Linked DNA regions of Homo sapiens: region 1 is linked to region 2. Evidence: promoter capture Hi-C in human tissues and cell types (Jung and others, 2019). All regions are on one chromosome and are shown on one strand. Each heading gives the region's core, a stretch centred on a gene start or on the middle of the fragment in contact. The rest is flanking DNA. Distances are from core to core; before and after follow the strand shown.

Region 1 (2,751 bases), core at 159-2,658, 190 kb after region 2:
TCTTTGAGTAAATTACTACTTAAACCTTCCATAGGGATTGGAGATAAGATTGTATCTAAGAATAAGATGGCCCCTTGGCAATCAGCTTGGGAACCTCTTGGCAGACCAGGAGGGCCCCAAGCCCCAGAGTGGGGCAGGGGGATGATTTCTGTGATGTTCCACCCAGGAGAGCAGCTAGAAGCATCCTGTAAGAGATGGAAAACAGATGGGCTGAGAGTGTGTTCTAGAAACATGGCAAGACCACACATATTTTAAAAGAAAATAAACCAGGCTGGGCACAGTGCCTCATGCCCATAATCCCAGCACTTTGGGAGGCTGAGGTGGGCAAATAGCTTGAGCCCAGGAGTTTGAGACAAGACTGGGAAGCATGGCGAAACCCCATCACTACAGAAAATAACAACAACAACAACAAAATTAGTCGTGCCTGGTGGTGTGGGCCTGTGGTCCCAGCTACTTGGGAGGCTGAGGAGGGAGAATCACCTGAGCCCAGGAAGTTGAGGCTTCAGTGGGCTGTGATCACACCACTGCACTCCAGCCTGGACCACAGAACGAGACCCTGTCTCAAAAACAAAGCAAAACGAAACACCCCTAGCAATCAGTTCTTCCTCAGTATCCTCCTCCCATGCCACTTTCTCCAGCTGTCATTCCTGTTCCTTCCCTTCCGCTGAGCACCTTCGTTCCTCCCTGTCTTTCCTTCCCCTTCTTACCTGACAAACTGGTTTCTCTACTCTTGATAAAGTCATCCATTGGTGGCATGTGTGTTCCAAAAATCTACTAGACCAGCATTTCCCAAGTGTGTTTTTGCAAAACACTAAACCCTTGTTGACTAGGCATGTTGGCTGACCCCTGTAATCCCAGCACTTTGGGAGGTCAAGGTGGGAGGATCCCTTGAGCTCAGGAGTTCAAGACCAACCTGGGCAACATAGTGAGACCCTGACTCTACCAAAGGGGAAAAAAAAATAAAGAAAAAAATAATAATTAAAAAAAAACTCTTGTTTTGCTTATTCTGTTAAAAAAAAAAAAAAAAAGGGAGGCAGTGGTCAAATAATTTGGTAAACCTCACATCCTGTACTGCATCTTAAAGATTCACATGCCTGTTAATATATAAAGGATTTTTGGGTGTACTTCAATCCCTTCTCTTTCTCTTATTCTCTCTCTGCCTGATTCCAATTTAGGACCCTTCATCTGATACCTGCAGGTGAGGGATGGGTCACAGCAGCTGTAACACCATATAAATGACAGCCCCACAGTTCTCTTGCTCACTTATTTCTTAGGTTCATCTATTGGAGATGGGACCCTATGGGAACTGAATAGCTCAGCTTCAAAATGCATTTCAAAACTTTTTCCCCCCTTTTTCTCTTTTCTCTCCAGTCTCAAGATGTAACCTTGAAGCCTACTGCAGAAACCCTTTTTTCCTCCTTAGTATTAGGACGTAGCCTTGAAATGTACTTTATTTGAAACACCGCGTCTCTCCCTTTCTTACCATACACTCCCTTACACCATGCACATTTATCTAATTGTACTTGGATCTAATTATGTGCTTACTTAGAAGTTCCAGGGTCTAATCTTGACATAAACCAGACATGGAGGCCCAGCTGCAAAATGCCAGAGATTACCTCAAGGCTGTTAGTCTACAACCCGGCCATCGTTCAGATGACATCAGATCACCCTGACAGTCACCAGGGAAACAAGAGACACAGACCTTGAACTCAGCACCACTCCTGCATACTTCCCATTCCAAGTTCCCCTTTTTAAGTCCCTCTCCCTAGCCTAAAGTTGGGAATGGTCTTTTAAAGGCATGAGCCTGGCTATTCCCCAACTTCTAGCATTTGAATAAAGTTGCTTTCCTTTCACCACACCTCGCTTCTTGTGCTTTTGACCTCTGAGCGGCGAGCAGCAGGACTTGAGCTGGTTACACTGCATCTGAAGCACCCTGGGCTGCCCTCATCACTACTGTTGTAACTCATGTTCTGCAGGAACTGAGAGCCTGAGCAAATGAACCTGAAATTCAGTTTTTTCTTCCTTTTTGGTCCTCCTTACCCCCTTCTATTATATGAATGATATAGTCATAGAATTTGCCTATAAAATCCAGAAAACTTAGTTCCAGCCTATCAAAGTCACCCAGTTATGGGATTAAGATGATAATGATGGAGCAACTTTGTAAAGGGCTTTGAAGATCAGACTGAGACTCAGATATTCCTGGAGAGTGGAGGCTGGTAACCCCCTTTACCTTGTAGCTATTTGCATTCACTGATTTGCAACAGAATTAAGGAGCCCTCTGAATAAAATACTTGAACACTGTCCACGATTAGGATTAAGACATATACAGACATATCTGATTGACTAGGGGCCCCAAGTGGAAGCTAGATGTTTGGAGAATGAAATGGTCAGTATGAGGAATCTGGTGCAGGGAATAGAATAGTGAGTGGACACAAAGCTGAACATGCAGCTGGGAGAGGCGGCTCACGCCTGTAATCCCAACACTTTGGGAGGCCAAGGTAGGAGGATCACTTGAGGTCAGGAGTTTGAGAGCAGCCTGGCTAACGTGGTGAAACCCCATCTCTACTAAAAATACAAAAATTAGGCCGGGCGTGGTGGCTCATGCCTGTAATCCCAGCACTTTGGGAGGCCGAGGCGGGCAGATCACGAGGTCAGGAGATCGAGACCATCCTGGCTAACATGGTGAAACCCCATCTCTACTAAAAATTCAAAAAATTAGCTGGGTGTGGTGGCGGGCACCTGTAGTCCCAG
Region 2 (2,700 bases), core at 164-2,663:
GAGGGAGCAGGCCGCGCACTCCTGCCTCTGCTGGGCTCCGGCTCGAAAAGTCCTTGGGATTAGGGATTTGGTCCTCTCTTTGCTAGAGTGGTTCGCCATACTTTAAATTCCCCAGTTATGACCTACGCGGATTTAGGATTAAGGAAAATGTGACTTTTAAATTGTTTCTGCTTCCCAGTTTGCAGGATTATTTGAAATAGCTAGAAACGGGGTGCAAAGCATTCCATTCAAAATCCGCTTTGCACAGAGTTGCTTTTGCGCGCTGGAGCTCGGAGTTTTGAGCGAGTGTGTTATTGTGCTACCGCCTGGAGCTGCGGCCCAGTTCCCGCCCCCATGGCCCCCCCATCCAGCACCTGGCGGCTAAATGGAGACAACTCATCCGACTGGTGGGCTGCGCGGGTCGTAACCTTCTCACCGCACCAGACAGGGGGGATCAAGCAATCCAGAGGCAACGAAACGGCTCTCCCCTCTCCACGAAATGCTCCAACTCACGGTCTACAGGTCTGGGCCGAACGCACACGCCCGCTGGAATCCCTCTCAGGGGCTCAGATTCGCAGCGCTCCAGGCAGGACCTCCCCCAGCCTCCCCGCTCGCTCGCCCCAGGCTGCGCGCCTAGGCCCCACGGCGGCCCGAGAGGTACCCACTTGTTGATCCGGCTGGCTTGCTCATGCTGGCTGTCCCGGGGCGGAGCGGTTGGTGGGCGCTGCCCGAGTCCCGGCCGGCAGCGCCCGCCTCGCCGCCGGGCGCCGCCGCTCTCCAGCTGCCCTCCAGCCTGCAAGGCTCCTGGGCGGGACAGGTGGGTGTCAGTCGCGCGCTGCGCTGCTCCCTGGGCGCTCAGAATTCGTCCAACAGTGGAAATTTAAGCATCCTTAAGTTTCTTCCCGGCTCTTGCAAAACCGCAGCTGCTGGGAATGCTGCTTGATATGGACACACACATGGACAGACAGATGGAGAGATGGACAGGAAGACTGAGGAAGAAGGAAGAACAGCAAGAGAGGGATGTTGAAAGACAGAGATGGAGACACGAAAATGGCCTTCCTACGGAGCGAAATCCCTCTTTTTCCCCATTCCTGTCACTCAGTCTTCGATCTCTCCCTCTACATAGGCATGCAGAGTGTGGGCAATCTCTGCCGACCGCTGGTCTCCCAAGGAAAGAAGGAAAACACTACCGCAGTCTCAGAGGCAGACGGGCTCCGCGCTGCCGGAACCCAAGCGCAGAGTGGGAAAACTAGATTGCTGGGAAATCTTCCGAGGGAAGAGGCGGCCAGGTCCGGGTTTCCGGGGAGAGCCGCGCACGCAGCGGCGAAGGGTCCCCGAAGTTCATTACCCCGTGACTTTGTGCCTGTCGCTGCGGGCTGGGTCCCCTGTAATATCTCCAGAAGCGCTCTGACAGGCAGCCGCGGGGAGGGGAATAGGGCGTCCCTGGCCCACTTAGCTTTTCCCCCAACTCCTGGCGGGGTCTGACGTCAGCCATGTGCGGGGAGGGGATGGGAAGAGGGAGGGGGTTAAATGCTAATGATATTAATGAACCTCCAAGCGGCTCCCAAAGAAAATGCAGGCGCTGTCGGAGCTTACGAGTTAGAAAGTGTGAATATGGGAGTGTGGCTCTGTGCGTGCGTGATGGTGAGGACGGTGCGGCTCGTAATAAAAATGAATTCGTATATTTCACGGCAAGAAGGAAGGGGAGGGGTGACGGGGCTTTCTCAAAACGCTTTTCCCCCTCTCTCCAGAGTGCCAGATAGATTCGCGGAAGAAATTGGGTGGCTGTGTGCTGGCGTGTGATTGTGCGCGCCGGACATGGCCATGTGAGTTGGTTCATTCTTGGTCCGGTGCCCCTTCTGTTGGGTAAAACTTGGATCTGGCCCGAGGTGAGTAATTTACTCATTTTGCACATATCTACGGAAAGTCAGGGCTGAGGATGGGGTCTTCTGGAGGTTCCGCGTTCCTTCGGCCTTCGCGCAGTGGGTTTGGGCACCAGCCGAGGGGAGGATGCCGCCAGCTTCCCCAAGCAGAGCTGGCCCATCCGACGCTGAGCGAATCTCTTGTCGCCTCCATTATCTGCACCGGGGCGGCTGGAGGGCAGAGCGTTCCCTCCCGCCGCTCGTCCTCGGCGGGCGTTGCGGGCTCCCGCTCTCCGGGCGGAGGAATAGTGAAGAGAGGCCCTCATCCCCTACCCCCTCCCCATTCCGCTTGCCTTCCCGCGATTCCTGAGCTCTCTCGCGCCTTGCTCTGTGCGCGGCGCTGGGAGAGCGCATGCCGAGGGAGCGATGATCCCCGATCTCTAAGAGATTAATTCTATTTAAGCTCTCTCGGCAGCTTGAACTTGTCGAACAAGAGCTTGCCAGTCCCTCCTCAGGGCGTGGACCCGGCCAGAGGTCAGAGGTTACACCTCCCGCCCTCCGCTCGACGTTCGCGGGGAGGGGAGCTGTGGCCGGCGCTCTGCAATTCCGCCAGCCCACCCCCCGGTCCCTCTTTCTCCAGACTCGGTGTCATCCCGGGCTTTCAATCAGAGTTCGCCTGTGCGTGCAAGTGAATGCTGGAGTCCCCCGAGCCCTGGGAGGGCGCAGCAGGTCCTCCGCCTGGGCGTCCCAGGGGGAGCGGGCTGTGCGCTCCAGTGGGCTCCGACAGCACGTGATTGCAACTTTCTGCCCAGCCTTGGCTCGGCCTCGAGCTCGGGGTCTCGCACACCACACACACCAG

What was found. The method cuts DNA at HindIII sites, captures the fragments that hold promoters and counts their contacts. A contact is called where the count stands out against the background at its distance.
Region 1: a contact is called between a fragment that was not itself captured here and the fragment with the promoter of NR2E1 in region 2, in 1 of the 25 tissues and cell types used here (thymus).

Annotation. Positions count from the first base shown.
Region 1 is chr6:107,971,762-107,974,512 of GRCh38, reverse strand. No RefSeq gene overlaps it. Among named protein-coding and RNA genes, the nearest start is that of SEC63, 15 kb to the right of the region's middle. The HindIII fragment of the contact is 4,193 bases long and covers 1-2,751 here.
Region 2 is chr6:108,164,735-108,167,434 of GRCh38, reverse strand. NR2E1 (nuclear receptor subfamily 2 group E member 1) reads right to left here and starts at 1,413. Exons shown (of 9, transcript NM_003269.5): 1 at 645-1,413. The coding sequence starts at 669. RefSeq lists enhancers at 1-568, 1,469-2,370. The HindIII fragment of the contact is 11,535 bases long and covers 1-2,700 here.